Regions from separate parts of the Homo sapiens genome. Here all the other regions are linked to region 1. Evidence: promoter capture Hi-C in 16 types of primary human blood cells and fetal thymus (Javierre and others, 2016). All regions are on one chromosome and are shown on one strand. Each heading gives the region's core, a stretch centred on a gene start or on the middle of the fragment in contact. The rest is flanking DNA. Distances are from core to core; before and after follow the strand shown. Region 1 holds the start of EFR3A (EFR3 homolog A). Region 2 has its middle 290 kb from the start of ADCY8. Region 3 overlaps ADCY8 (adenylate cyclase 8).

Region 1 (5,000 bases), core at 767-3,266:
TTGCTCCCAAGTCAGCAGCCAACAAATCCAGGGATTCTTTTCCAAAGTAAGATTCAGTTCTTTCTTTTTCCACAGCCACCACCAAGACTGAGCACCTAACACTCTCTCCTGTATTGGGGCCTTCCGATTTGGCTGCCTACCTCCACAGTTTCTCTGCCACACCATTCCCCCTGCAAGGCCCTGCTTCTGATAATTTAATGTTACTGTTATGCTTTTTGTAAAAATCACAGAACAGTTTCTTAAAAGACAAATTCCAAGGTTGAATGTAAAGTTGTTTATCAGTTTTATTTACCTGTTTTTGTTTTCATACTCTTGAATAAAATCCTTTATTTATATATTGAATTAATATACTCTGGCCCCCACCTGTGTGCCAGCCAAGGATACATAAACATGAACAGAATATGGCTTTTGCCATTTTCTGAAAAGCAAATAGGCCCATGGTAAAACACAAGCACTCATGACAGTTTATTTAGGATGCAGTGAGAAAAGTGCTGTAGCAGAGAGGAATCAAGATAATGCCAAAGTCTTAGGGAGAAAACTGGAAGCATGAAAGATTTTATAGGTGATAAAATATGCAACAGGGCATTAAAACATGAATAAGCACTAGGTAGTTTGGTCTTTACTGTTAGCAAGGGACAGTCTCTCTTTTTTTTTTTTTTTTTTTGAGATGGAGTCTTGCTCTGTAGCCCAGGCTAGAGTCCAGTGGCCCGATCTCGGCTCACTGCAAACTCCGTCTCCTGGGTTCAAGCGATTCTCCTTCCTCAGCTTCCCAAGTAGCTGAGTGAGAATATAGGCATGTGCCACCACCCCCGCCTAATTTTTGCATTTTCAGTACAGACAGGGTTTCGCCATGTTGGCCAGGCTGATCTCGAACTCCTGACCTCAGGTGATCTGCCCACCGCCCACCTCGGTCTCCCAAAGTGTTAGGATTACAGGCGTGAGCCACCGTTCCCAGCTGGACAGTCTCTTTTATAGGTACAGTACACACTCTCCTCTCCCCAGCTGCCATGACTCACTCTAAATTACCCTTCATCCTCTCCCCAGCCTCTTTTAGGACTCCCCTAGGCTTTGCTAATTCAAATTCTGCTTTCTTCCAAGTCCACCTCAAGCCAAGACTAATTTCTCCTCAGCGCTTCCTAGCTCTGATCTTCATGTTCTTCATCTTCTCCTCCCAGTACTGCACAATATCATTTCTTAATCAGAAGGTTAGCCCTACTTTTTAGGACAAAGGTTCTCAGTATTATCATTGTATTTAAATCATCTGTATATGTGTTCGTAGATTTGGCTCAGCACCTAGGAATCTGCTTTTCAACAAGTCCCCAGGGGATCCAAGCACAAAAGGATCCTGGACCACTTTGACCCACTTTGAGGAAGGCTGTGTTAAACCTCTGCGGTTGGCTTTTATATCTCCATATGGGCTGTCCGCAGCCCACGGCGCCTAGCATAGTGTAGGTGCGTTGCTCAGCTCTCTGGCTCCCGGTGTCTGCTCAGCTTGGTGACTATTAGATACCTCAATTATTAATGACACCCAGAGTCAAGAAGAGTAGCTCAGCCAAGTGCACAGAGCTGCCCTCTCCAGAGGAGACTAACTCCTGAGGGATAAGGTCGCTCTGAAAGTCACAAGAGCAAAAGGAAATTACATTTTCTGCCCTCTCAAAAAATGAGCAGCCATCACCCCAAATGACCTTAGTGCATCTCAAATAAACCATGCTTTCAGAGTATGCAAAACGCACTGCAAGTTAAACCGATTGCAAAAGAAAAAGCCCACAGGTACTCCGTGCGCTCAAAGCCATCATCCTCACAAACGTAAAGTGATGCACTCCAAATAGAGATCAAGGAAAACGAATGCCACGCAGGTCACCAGGCTTGGAAAATAGAAGGCACCCGAAGTTGTTCTACGTGGCTGTCCCCAGCCACCCATTCCACCCGCTCGACAAGGGATCCTGGGCCGAGCCCGGCCATCCGCGGGGGCGGGGCCGGGACGGCGGCGGCGCGCTGACGTAACGGGCGTGGGTCGTCCGTCGCGCCGCCCGGCGAGGAGTGGGCTGGCGGCGGTAGCTGTCGCCCGCTTGGTTGCGTGACCGCGGGGTCCGCGTCCGCTCCCTCCACCCTTCGCCCTTCGCCCTTCGCCTCGTTCCGGCCTCCGCGGCCCAGCAACGGCCGTCATGGTGCCGTCGGCGCTCCCTGCGCGGCCCCGCTGAGCCTCGGTGCGGCGGCGAGCGCGGTCGAGATCGCCATGCCTACCCGTGAGTGGCCGGCCGAGGGCCGGGGGCGTTGGGAGGCGACTGCCTGCGCGACGCGCTTGGGCCGGGTACTCCTCCCGGGCGGCTGGGGAGGCTGGGCCGCGCTGAGCAGAGCCAGGAAGTGTCTGCGAGCGGCGGAGTTAGTTTCGTTTCGGCTTAGCCTTCCGGAGATGGCGTGAGCCCGTTGCACGGATCGGGAAACTGAGGCCCGAACGTTAAGGGAACTGCGGGGACGCGCTGTTAGGAGGCGGCAGAGCTGGTGGTAACCTGACCCGTGGGATTTCAAAGTTAAAGCCCTTTTCCCACGGCCACACGGCTTCGTGGGACTTTATGGAAATATTGAAAATAACTGCGGTACCATTGTCAGTCCCTTCTCACCTCGGGCCGGACGTCGCTAGTGGACGCGCCGGCCCCGAGTCCCTTCCCGCGGCCGCCAGACAGACCCCCGACAGCCTAACTCGGCGTCCGTATCGCCGTCGGGGCGGCTGAAGTCGGAGCTTTCTGTGGAGCTTGTTAGGCAGAGGCACCTCGACTGTGGCTTTTGGACCACACTTCGGATTCACCCGGGCAGATGATTAAAAATGCCGGTTTCGGGACCCGCCCTATTCCCATGGAATTAGTCTGGAGCTTGGGCCCCGGAGTCTGCATGTCTAATAAGCGTCCCTGGGGTTACCAAGGCACCCCAAAGTTTAAAAGTCACTCGGTGTTGGAGGATTTTTAGACAGACGCGATACTACAAGTACTGCTAATGACCTATTTTAAAATGACCCAGATAATCGCAGTGTGACTTTATAGCCACTGGTCAATGTGGATATGTGCAAACTAGGGAAGCTCCTGATCTTGGGTAGAGAGGAAGCAACTTTGTCATTGATTTGAGAATTCAAGTAGGACTCCTTTGACTAAGTGTTCAATACTATAGAATCTTTACACACTTGTGAATATATTTCCTAGAATTCATAACTACTTCTAGTTGTCCTTGTTTTGTAGCCATCTGGGACGCTGAATTTCCAGGTCAGTCTCCAATGCACGTTTCGTCTAGTGGTGGGAAAAGATGAGTTATTTCTTGATATTATAAAGATTGATATTTTCCTGATATTTAAGGATATTAAATTTAAATTGATATTAAAGATATTTAAATATCTTTTTGAGATTTAAAGATTTTCCTGTGGCAAATCTTTACATAGTCCTGATGTAGAGATTACTTTTAACTCCTCATACATGTGTGGGTACTGTGGATTTTGTTTTCTTCACACACTACTGTGTGTCCTTAACTCACGTTCTTGGACTTCGCATCCAGTAAATATGTCCAGTTTAAATTTCTGTTTTATTCCTTTTGGCTGGAGGAATATCATTTACAATCATCTTCATTGTTATTGCCAGTTTAGTACTTCTAAATTCATGTTCACGTTATTCAGTGAATATCTGAGACTAGCACTATGCTAATCTTTTATTTTCTGAGAAACCAAAGGGGAGGAGGTAAGCACCTATTGAAAGTTGAGGCTTCAAGTAGAATTTATTGGTAACATGCCAGAATTATCCTGTGAAATAAAATTTTTAGTTATGTTCTAGGGTTATCTAGCTTCACAGAGTGGATATAGTAAACTCGTTTCTTTTCAAATGTTGAGTTCATTCTGCAAAATGATTTTAGGATGGGCCATGGTGGAGTTTACATAGTTAAGAATGCAGATTTCACACCCTGACTGGAAGACAAGTGAAATGTTTGTTTTATCTGTCATTGTTAATATTTGTCATGGTACATTTTTTATGACTGAATAAAAATGTGCTGTGGATTGATTGGGGGTACCAGTGTGAGGTGAATAGTGTTCATATTTGCCTTTTCTCTCCTTTGGCAGTCACAGCTGCCGAAATTGCTGGGATAGTGCAGTGGACAACAATATTTCTTTGAAATTCTGTTTGTAGAATATATATCCAACACAGAGATGGCAAAATTGTTATTCTCTGTAGGAATTTAGGAGGAAGTTCACAGCTCTTAGGAGGAAAACTGTGCTCAGATAAGCTAAGTGTTTTTGTTTGATTGGTTGTTTTAATGTTAAATGGTTGAGAGGCTTAGTGATAAGCCCAAGCCAGTTAATCCGTACGAGTTTTAATTAAAATCAAAGGGTTGGAGGTGATCACTGTGGTCTCTCAGACTCTACAATTCCGAGAGCAACCCTTGCTGTAAGTCATAGAATTATTCTACTCTTGCTATTTTGTTGCTTATTTGGAATATTGGTACTCATTGAAACTGTTGTTAATAACTAGAATCCAGTGAAGCATGCAGTAACCCCACTGGTTAAGCAATGATATATCTCATGAATATTAACAGCCACTTCACTAGAATTATTTTGGAGATCCGTAGACTCTTTGAGAAAGCAACCACCTGGAAGGATGCCTGACAGGAAACTGCCAGGACACAGAAACAATTTTGTGGTCGTGTTACAAGCCTGTAGTCTGAAACAATCCTTAGGCACAGATTTCAAGACTATGCTGCTGAATGCTGTTGCAAACCTGTAAACCTATAATTTGACACATCATTTTTCTAGAGGCCTTTATTTCATTCTCCATTCAAAGGACCATTAAGAAGCGTTTTATTTGAAAGATTTTCAAACTCTGAATCGGAGTTTGAGTTGGAACGACTGTTAAAGCTTCTTCATCATTTTATGTTGTGTATCGGGAAGCTGAGCCTTCTGAGAGTTTCCATGGAGTAAAACCATGACTTGAACACAGAACTGGCCCCTATAATCAGTAACCACAGTG
Region 2 (5,000 bases), core at 1,870-4,369, 1.2 Mb before region 1:
TACCTAGAAGGGAAGGGCCACCTGTCCCATGATCACATGACTTGCTTGACCTTATCAATCACTTGGATGACTCACCCTCCTTACCTTGTCCCCCTTGTATTGTTTGCAATAAATGTCAGCGCGCCCAGCCATTCTGGGCCACTACCGGTCCCCTCATCTTGGTGGTAGTGGTCCCCCGGGCCCAGCTGTTTTCTCTTTATCTCTTTGTCTTGTGTCTTTATTTCTTACAGTCTCTCATCACTGCACATGGGGAGAACACCTGCTAAGCCCGTAGGGCTGGACCCTACAGAAAATCTCATTTAAACCCCTACCCCACAAAGAGCCTATAATCAAGTGACATTGACACCCCTCAGGGATGATCCTTTGGGGGACCAAAGTTCTCATGGGTTCTCTGTCAGTGAATTTCAGAGGATATATTTCATAGGTAAGAGGGAAGCTTTGGAGATGGATTGTCCTGCTTATTAGCTTTGTGACATTGGCTAAACTCCTCAGTTTTATCTGTCATACTGGGAAAATATCATCCACCTAATAGGATTGTTGGGAGGAATAAATAAGATAATTCAAGAAGAGGGCTTAGACCAATTCCTAGAGTGTAGTCAGTGCCCAGTAAATGCTGTGGCATCTGGAAGGATCTTAGACCACATGACCAAGGAGTGGGGTTGGGAGTAGGGTGGCAGGCAGGGAACAACTTAAACAACAGGAATGGGATTGCATTTCTCAGCAGAGCCCATGTAATGGGACTCTTCCTGTAGCTAGTGATCCAGGACAGAGTGTTCAGAGGTAGGAGAGTGTGATGGGCCAGGAGACAAGGGAGGAGAATCCATCAAGACAGATGCAGGCCATGCTGGGCTATGTCAAGTGCAACAACAGTGGCAATAGGACTTTGTACTTAGGAGGATGTATTAGTCAGGGTTCTCTAGAGGGACAGAACTTATATATATATATATATATAAAATATAGGATATATGTATCCTATTAGTATATAGGATATATGTATATTAGTATATATATATTAGTATATATATATTAGTACTTAATCATATATAATGCAAGTCTGAAACCCAGACTTATACATATATGGGAGTTTGTTAAGTGTGTGTATATATGTGTGTGTATATATATATGTACACACACACACACACACACATATATATATATATAAAGGGGAGTTTATTAAGTATTGACTTACACAACCACAAAGTCCCACAATAGGCTGTCTGCAGGCTGAGGAGCAAGGAGAGCCAGTCTGAGTTCCCAAAGTGAAGAACTTGGAGTCCGATGTTCGAGGGCAGGAGGCACCCAGCATGGGAGAAAGATGTAGGCTGAGAGGCTAGGCCACTCTCTCCTTTTCACATTTTTCTTCCTGCTTTATATTCCCTGGCAGCTGGTTAGATTGTGCCCACCAGATTAAGGGTGGATCTGCCTTCCCCAGCCCACTGACTCAAATGTTAATCTCTTTTGGCAACACTCTCACAGACACACCCAGGATCAATACTTTCAGTCCAATCAAGTTGACACTCAGTATTAACCATCACAGATGAGGTGAGGACAGAAGTCAGCCTGGAGAGTCCAATGGTAAGGCAGTGGAGACACAGAAGGTAGACAGCTTCTGCTAGAAGCAAATCTGGGGAAGAAATGAAACAGAAGTCAGCAGCTTAAGAGTGCCATGGCAATAGGGACAGAGAAAGGAGGCCACATATCAGATAGAGCCCGTAGGTAATTAGAAGGTCTGGGGCATTTGGAAATAGGAGGTTTCAGTTAGAATAGTTTTGCTGGTGTTGCCATTTCACAACTTCTGGCTGGGGCAAGAGAGGGAGAAGGGTAGTGTTGTTACATTGACTGACCATGGGGACCACTTCAAGTACAGATGTGAGGACAGGAGGAGGCAGCCAGATGGGAGAAACTTGGGGGACCAAAGTGACCACAGCTGTAAAGAGCAGGAAAGAGGGGAACTGTAGAGTGCTGGAAGCCTGAAGGCTGTGTCTCAACACGGGAGAGAGGACTAGAGGGGGATAAAGACTTTACCAGCCTTGTGACCCCAACTTCTAGTAGATGGCCACCCACACATGACAGGTATTAATATAAGTTGGTGGTGGGATGAAGAAACCATAGGTAACATAGGTCTCATTATGCCCATTTTGCAGATGACCAGAGACACTTACTGTTTTGTTTAAGGTCACACAGCTAGAAAGTGCTAGGGCCAAGACCCGAAGTCAGGTCTCCAGAGTCCTGGCCTAGGGCTCTTTCCTTCAGCACATTGTCACTCTCTCAGGCTTTGCCACTTGCCTCCATCACACCTACTCGGAGCCAACCTCCTATCCTCTTGACAGGCTTACAGGGAGGCAAGAGGGTGTTACGCAAAGGAAACTTTCTTCAAATTCTGCTTTTTCACTTGCAAGCTGTGTGGTCTGGGCCAATATTTTACCTCTTTATACCTCATCATTTCCTCCGTCAAACAGGAATGACTCAGCCTTCATGTAGCTGCATCTGAGACAGCCAGCTGGAATATAAACTCCAGGAGGGCAGGGACTTTTGCCTGTTTAGTCCTCTGCTTTGTCTCCAGCACCAGCACCAGCACCTAGAACAGCTCCAAGTCGTTCTGGTGTTAGTTAAGCTTCCTTGGAGAAGAAGAACCTCTCACTTCAGGCTTCTGTTCCCCAGTCTGACCAGAAGATGGCAGCAAAGGAAAGCGTGTCCCCTGGACAAGGCTGTTGCCGTGCTGAAGGCCTCTGCAGATTTCCTGATTGCTTGTCCCTGCATTAGGAAGCAGAGCTGTCACTGCTCCTTGAGCTTCAGAACTGTGGGCCTGTGCGGAGCCTAGTTATGAATCCTTTTTATAGAGGCCTGGTGCTGCTTGGGTGAGAAGGGGCAGCATGTGCAGGAGGTGCCTTTTGGGCCTCCATCTAGTAGAGCTGTGTATTAATCCGTTTTCACACTGCTATAAAGACACTACCTGAAACTGGGTAATTTATGAAGAAAAGAGGTTTAATTGACTCACAGTTCCACATAGCTGGGGAGGACTCAGGAAACTTACAATTGAGGCGGAAGTTGAGGGGGAAGCAAGGGGTGTCTTACATGGCAGCAGGAGAAAGCATTAGAGGGGAACTGTCAAGCCCCTTATCAAACCATCAGATCTCATGAGAACTCACTCACTATCAAAAGAACAGCATGGCGGAAACCACCCCCATGATCCAATCACCTCTCACCAAATTCCTCCCCTCCACACATGGGGATTACAATTCGAGATAAGATTTGGGTGTGGACACAGATCCAAACCATATCATTCTGCCTCTGGCCCCTCCCAAATCTCATGTCCTTTTCACACTTCAAAACCAATCATTCCTTCCCAGCTATCCCCCAAAGTCTTAACTCATTCTAGCATTAACACCAAAGTCTCATTTTAGACTTGGACTTTTCAGTTAAAAGTCAAAAACTTTTGAGACAAGACAAGTTCCTTCCACCTATGAGCCTGTAAAATAAAAAACAAGTTAGTTACTGCCAAGATACAATTGAGGTACAGGGACTGGGTGAATGTTCCTGTTCTAAATGGAAGAAGTTGATCAAAACGAAGGGGCCACAGGCCCCATGCAAGTCTGAAACCCAGTGGGGCAGTCATTAAATCTTAAAGCTTTGAAATGATCTCCTTTGACTCCGTGTCTCACATCCAGGGCATGCTGATGCAAAGGGTGGGCTCCCACAGCCTTGGGAAGCTCCACCCCTGTGGGTCTGCAGGGTATAGCCTGGCATTGAGTGCCTGTGGCTTTTCTAAGTGCATGGTGCAAGCTTTCAGTGGATCTACCTTTCGGGGGTCTGGAGGATGGTAGACCTCATCTCACAGCTCCACTAGGCAGTGCCCCAGTGGGGAAACTGTGTGGGGCTTCCAACCCCACATTTCCCTTTCACACTGCCCTAACAGAGGTTCTCCATGAGGGCTCTGCCCCGGCAGCAGACTTCTGCCTAGACATTCAGGTGTTTCCATACATCCTCTGAAATCTGAGCAGAAGTTCCCAAAACTCAACTGTTGTCTTCTGTCTACCCACAGGCCCAACACCACATGCAAGCTGCCAAAGCTTCTATGTAGTACTGGGCTGTGGATAGCAGTGGTCTGGGCTGTACCTTGGCTCCTTTTAGCCATGGCTGGAACTGGAGTGACTGGGATGCAGGGCAACAAGTCCCAAAGCTTCACAGAGCAATGGGGACCTGGGCATGGCCCATGAAACCTAGGCCTCTGGGCCTGTGATGGGAGGGGCTGCTCTGAAGGGCTCTGACATGCCCTGGAGACATTTTCCCCATTGACTTGGCTATTAACATTTGGCTCCTTGTTGCTTATGCAAATTTCTGCCACCAGCTTGAATTCCTCCACAGAAAATGAGTTTTTTTTCTACCACATGGTCAAGCTGCACATTTTCCAAACCTTTATGCTCTGCTTCCCTTTTAAACATAAGTTCCAATTTCAAGCTATCTCTTTGCGAGCACATATTGCTGTACACTGTTAAGAGCATCCAAGCCACCTCTTCAACACTTTGCTGCTTAGAAATTTCTTCTGCCAGATACCCTAAATCAACTCTCTCAAGTTCAAAATTTCACAGTTCTCTACAGCAGGGACACAATGCTGCCAGTCTCTTTGCTAAAGCATAGCAAGAGTGACCTTTGCTCCAATTCCCAATAAGTTCTTCATCTCCACCTAAGACCACCTCAGCCTGGACTTCATTGTCCATGTCACTGTCAGCATTTTGGTCAAAACTATTCAACAAGTCTCTAAGAAGTTCCAGATTTTCCCACATCTTCCTGTCTTCTTCTGAGACCTCCAAACTGTTCTGACCTCTGCCCATTACCCAATTCCAAATTTGCTTCCACATTTTTAGGTTATCTTTATAGCAATGCCTACTTCCAGTACCAATTTCCTGTATTAGCCTGTTCTCATACTGCTGTAAAGAAATACCTGAGACTGGATAATTTATAAAGGAAAGAGGTTTAATTGACTCACAGTTTCACATGGC
Region 3 (5,000 bases), core at 1,555-4,054, 1.0 Mb before region 1:
TTGACCACAAATCCCCCTTTTCTTGAATTGCCTCTATATGTTTCATGGAATGCTATTTGGGAAACAGTGCTTTAAAGTTCTTCCCTGCTTTTATTCAGAATTTCCACACACTAGACCTGTTTCCGATTTCTGAACAAGATCTACATCCATCTCCCTTCATGTGGCTGCTTTCCAGTGTCCTTAGCTTTCTTCACCAGGCACATGAAATGTATTTCCCCAGTTGTTCCATAGGTGATATAGTTTCTACATATTGCATAATTCTTCTTAGTTTGTCCTTGCCTTGTGGGCACTACTTCACAGAGTATCAGACCCAGTGCACGTGGCATCTGACCTTGTGGTGGAACATGGACACCTAACATAATCTGACCTATTAAGTAATTACTCATTTTATGCATTGAAACATGTAGCATCTAGGCATGTATCCTACTGCTACTATAAAAAACAAATAAGACATCACCTCCTCCAGTAAGCCTACTCTGAGGCTGCAATTGTCCTTATCACCATTACTATGATTCATTGTAATTGCCTAATTAGGTGATTGTTTCTCTAGACTATGATCTCCTTGAGGCCAGGCACTGTGTTTTATCTATAACTGAGTCTCCGGCACCTGGTATATCTGCTAGGTTCATAATAAGTGTATATGAAAGGAAGGAATGGATGAGTGGATAGACGAAAGGTCAAGTGCCTTTATAAGAAGATTGTCGAACACATGGACACAGGGTGGGGAACATCACACACCGGGGCCTGTTGTGGGGTCAGGGGAGTGGGGAGGGATAGCATTTGGAGATATACCTAATGTAAATGACGAGTTAATGGGTGCAGCACACCAACATGGCACATGTATACATATGTAACTAACCTGCACGTTGTGCACATGTACCCTAAAACTTAAAGTATAATAAAACATAAAACTAAAAATAAAAAAATAAGAAGATTGTCCCTAGGGCAGTGTTTCTGGTCTTTCACTGCAAAAGTCCCTTTAGTTTTTTTCTGTTCTCTCCCAAATGGACTTCAAATTTTGGAAAGATTCTGTTTACCAAACTGTATTAAATAAGAAGTAGTTTATTTTCCTGCTATTTGATCAAATGCCTAGTTTTTCTCAGCATGAGATAAAAGGCACTACCAATGCAGTTAATATTCCAGCCAAGAGCAAGGGCCTTTAAAGGCAGCCTAGTGACGCTTGTCAATGTGAGGTTTTATTCAGACTTTTGGGATCCAGAGAATGTCACTCCCATTACTACTTCCCAGTGCTGGCTGCTAGAGCACCAGAGACCACAGGCTGGCAAGGGGTAACCTTGAGCCTTTTCTGGGACCAGCACCTGGGCTAACTTCAGTTTGTGTGTTCTCCATGAGCCAGTTGTGGAAGGAGGTTAAGGTCACTAGTGAAAGCACTTTATTCTTTATTAGCTCCTGGACAAGGCAGATGTGGTAGTCTTTAGATTTAGCTATAGTAGTTGTGACTGAGGTCTCACAGTGTGGGCCAACTCATTGCTGATATGGAAAAGACCTAGCGAGAACGCCAGGCTCAGCAATCTCAAGGCACAGCTGTGCAGCTTCTGTCTTTCATGCTGAGATGTCCTAACCTTTCCCAAAGACTCTGCTTATTTTCAGTTTCAGGCTGGAATCTTCATTCAGAAGTAGGTAGGGCCAGTAGTTTCCCCAACCTATTCTGGGAGCACGCTTCCATTACCCCTGTGGCAGCATGTTTCTGTGCCTAACTTGGAAGCCTCTGTACCTCTATTTTAAACTTGATGCCTGCAGCCTTTGGGTTGTGGAAAAGGCAGAGGTTCCACCTTTCAGTTCTTATGAACTTCCTATGTCCTACAAGACACAGGAAAAACAGTGAGCCTAAGTAAGAGTACCTCAACAGTGCACATTACAGCGATTCTTTCTCTACTGTTTGTTAAAATGCCAACCCAACCCCTGGAAGAGAAGGCTTCTACTTTAAAAAGAGTCATTTTGTGTTCTTTTTTTGACAGATTATAATAATATACAATTATGTGGTACATTGTGATATGATATACGAATATGTTGTACAATGATTAGATTAACCTAGTTAATATACCCATCATCTTAAATACTTATCATTTATTCTTCTTAAGAAAGCTCATACCTTGGGAAAGCTTCAAGGTGATCTAGTCTACAATGGTTTGCATTGAGGACCTCAGGGAGGAGAATGCTTGTTATGTTTGAAAATGGCACAATTTTTTTCCCTCAAATCTGGGAATGGGGAGATATGAGATGAAATATTTTCCTAGTAAGAAAATGCTAAGTGGTATTTGAGTAAACATTGACTTGGGGAGCCCTTGATAAAATATCCACATGAGATCTCCAAGACCCTGTCTTATAACAAGTTTTCCTTCTTATGGGAGTGGAGGTGCTAGTGAATAGGACCATTTCCCATAAGCAAGGTATCTTAGTTAAGATTGTTGCAACTTTTCTTGTCTATACTAAGAGAAAATGAAACAGTACAGCCAAATGATCTGTTTGATGCTTTTTTAGTTAGAAATCATGCTTACTTTTCCTTTTATTTTTTGAATATTTATGTCACTGTAATCTGTTTTCCAAGAAAAGCAAATGAATGTTTAACGAGATCTTATTGTGGGAGAAGGTCTGTGGGATTCTGCTATGGAAAGCGGTTTAAATAATTTTCATAATAGTCTCATAGCTTCTGCCCCAGGAAACGATATAACAGGGGTCAGAATGTCCATTCTGTTGCAATAATAGCCTAGACATTTCTATAAGCCTACTGTAGGATTTCAGCACCCCTCTGTTGTCTGGTTTCCCAGTTATGAGTAAACAATGTCAGTCTGGGGCTCAGGTCATTTGGGAAATCGTTGCTTCCCATCTTTAGGCAGAATTGGAAGTTTCCGACTATTGTCTGGATGCTAACTTTGATAGGGATGAAGGGATCTGTGACATCCTTTGATTGACTTTTGTTCCTTGGTGTCCTGAAATTTCAGTCTATGATGAAGAAAATAAAACAATGACAAGGCAGGTGCCCCGACTCTGGCTGATACCACACTAGGCACTTACTCATTTGCTACTCATTGGAACCCCACAACCTCACTCTTGGCCTTTCAACTAATATTGGTAAACTGGAGCATGAAAACAGTTTAATCATTTGGGGGTTTAGGTCCCAGGATATCCAAGCACAATCCTGGGCTGTCTTCCTGGTGTGCTTTGCCTGGCATTAAATGCCTCACCTCTTGCTTCAGTTCAACCTACTCCTGGGTCATGGCTTTAGACACAGATGTACTCTCCTGGTTCTCTTGAGATGTGATGTGGGCAAGTGGTCCGCTGTGGCTTCTCTCCAGGTTCAACCACAATTCCCCGTGATTGGGCAGAGTTCTCAGGATAAGAAGACTGAGACCTCACAGAGGGAATTACCAACATTCTAGATTTTGTCCCTTAGAGCTGGCCTAAGGAATCCAGCCAGGTTAACTTGGGTCAAGTGGGGTCTGACAATGATTCCCTCCTGCCTGAGAAGCTTGCCTGACTCTATTCCACCAATCTATTAGCTAATCCTAGATGCTTGCCTCTGATATTATTCTTTGAGCTCCTTAAAAAGAAGATTCTCATCTCAGTTTGGGAAATGTGATTATGTCTGAGACATTACACACTTGGGTCATTTTTATAAAATCAAAAAATGTTGTTAAACTTCTGCAGAATTGGCGGAAACAGAACTTGGCACACTCATTTAGATCCGACCACTTTGACGCCACATGATTTGAGGCAAATTGTCAATTGAATTGAATTTTTAGCTTTTTAAGTATCACATCCGTAGTAATGTGTGGAACAGATATGCAAACTCCAGCACGGACTTCATCTCGAGATTAGGGATGGTGTAAGTGCTGGGATAAGGTACGATCTAGGAATGGAGGCAAGATTTCTGCCAGGATTCACATGGGACTCACAAGTAGGGGAGAGAGAAACTGAAACATTGGTGGTTTGTTCATAGGGCCACAGGGTAGGTGTGAATTGAAATATCTCCTAGCACTGAATTAGCTGGGTTGAAATGTCATTGGCTGTAGTTGGTGAGATGACCACTATCCCATTGACTGAATGACCTTGGGTTGGCAACCTGGAGAATTTTAGCTCAGGAAATGAATAAACAAACATATATCCAGACCTAAGTTACTCCATTTTCTTGTGAACATCAAAGATGTGGATTTTTTAGAGGTGTCAATACCATGGGGAGAAGAAGGTGTGTGTGTGTGTGTGTGTGTGTGTGTGTGTGCATGTTTATATGTGTGTGTGTGCATGTTTATGTGTGTGTTTGTGGGTGTGCAAGTTTATGTGTGTGTGCATGTTTATGTGTGTGTGTTTGTGGGTGTGCATGTTTGTGTGTGTGCATGTTTATGCGTGTGTGTGTTTGTGGGTGTGCATGTTTGTGTGTTTTGGGGTGTGCATGTTTATGTGTGTGTTTGCGGGTGTGCATGTTTGTGTGTGTGGTTGTGGTTGTGTTTTCTTAATAGAAATTTTGAGAAAATTGAAATAGAATTATTTAAATGTTTAGCTTTGAAGGTTCAGAAGTAACTTTTAATTTAGGCAGATGAAAAACTTACACATCTTGGGTTGCTGATAAATTGCTCATGTTTGGTGTTTTAAATTTCTCAGTATGAGTTTTTTCAGACCACTCTTATACAATTTACTAATCACATGTAGTTATTGATGCTTTCCTTAATTTAATTCCAATGGAGCAACAAATTACTGACCTTCAAGAATCCAGCATCTCTTACTTTTCACCAGTTGTGTCAGGGCAAAACTGGGAAAAGAAGAAACGGTCTATGTTAGAGCTACATTGCTACCTCTTTGGGGTTGTGCCTGCTACTTCCTTTTACCCTAACTTTCCCAACACACACATTTCTATAAGAATGGTGTAATTGGTTTAGCTTTTCTGGTTTTTTATTATCCCGCGTGTTTATTTCCAGGCTTATCCCTTATCAGTGGTCCTGTGTTTAAGTTTTCCCCAGACATGAAGTCCAGAGTGGGTGATA

The links. Contacts are between HindIII fragments. The CHiCAGO score rates a contact against its expected background, and 5 or more counts as called.
Region 2: a fragment that was not itself captured here is called in contact with the fragment with the promoter of EFR3A in region 1 in 1 of 17 cell types (endothelial precursors); the score reaches 5.7 in endothelial precursors.
Region 3: a fragment that was not itself captured here is called in contact with the fragment with the promoter of EFR3A in region 1 in 1 of 17 cell types (endothelial precursors); the score reaches 5.9 in endothelial precursors.

Annotation. Positions count from the first base shown.
Region 1 is chr8:131,902,077-131,907,076 of GRCh38, forward strand. EFR3A (EFR3 homolog A) reads left to right here and starts at 2,017. Exons shown (of 23, transcript NM_015137.6): 1 at 2,017-2,246. The coding sequence starts at 2,237. RefSeq lists a silencer at 1,914-2,393 and an enhancer at 2,964-3,013. The HindIII fragment of the contact is 8,534 bases long and covers 1-4,886 here.
Region 2 is chr8:130,747,161-130,752,160 of GRCh38, forward strand. No RefSeq gene overlaps it. Among named protein-coding and RNA genes, the nearest start is that of ADCY8, 290 kb to the right of the region's middle. RefSeq lists a silencer at 91-277. The HindIII fragment of the contact is 1,014 bases long and covers 2,613-3,626 here.
Region 3 is chr8:130,889,451-130,894,450 of GRCh38, forward strand. The region is part of intron 7 of ADCY8 (adenylate cyclase 8); the gene reads right to left. The region is part of intron 2 of LOC124902068 (a long non-coding RNA gene); the gene reads left to right. Among named protein-coding and RNA genes, the nearest start is that of ADCY8, 150 kb to the right of the region's middle. The HindIII fragment of the contact is 1,367 bases long and covers 2,122-3,488 here.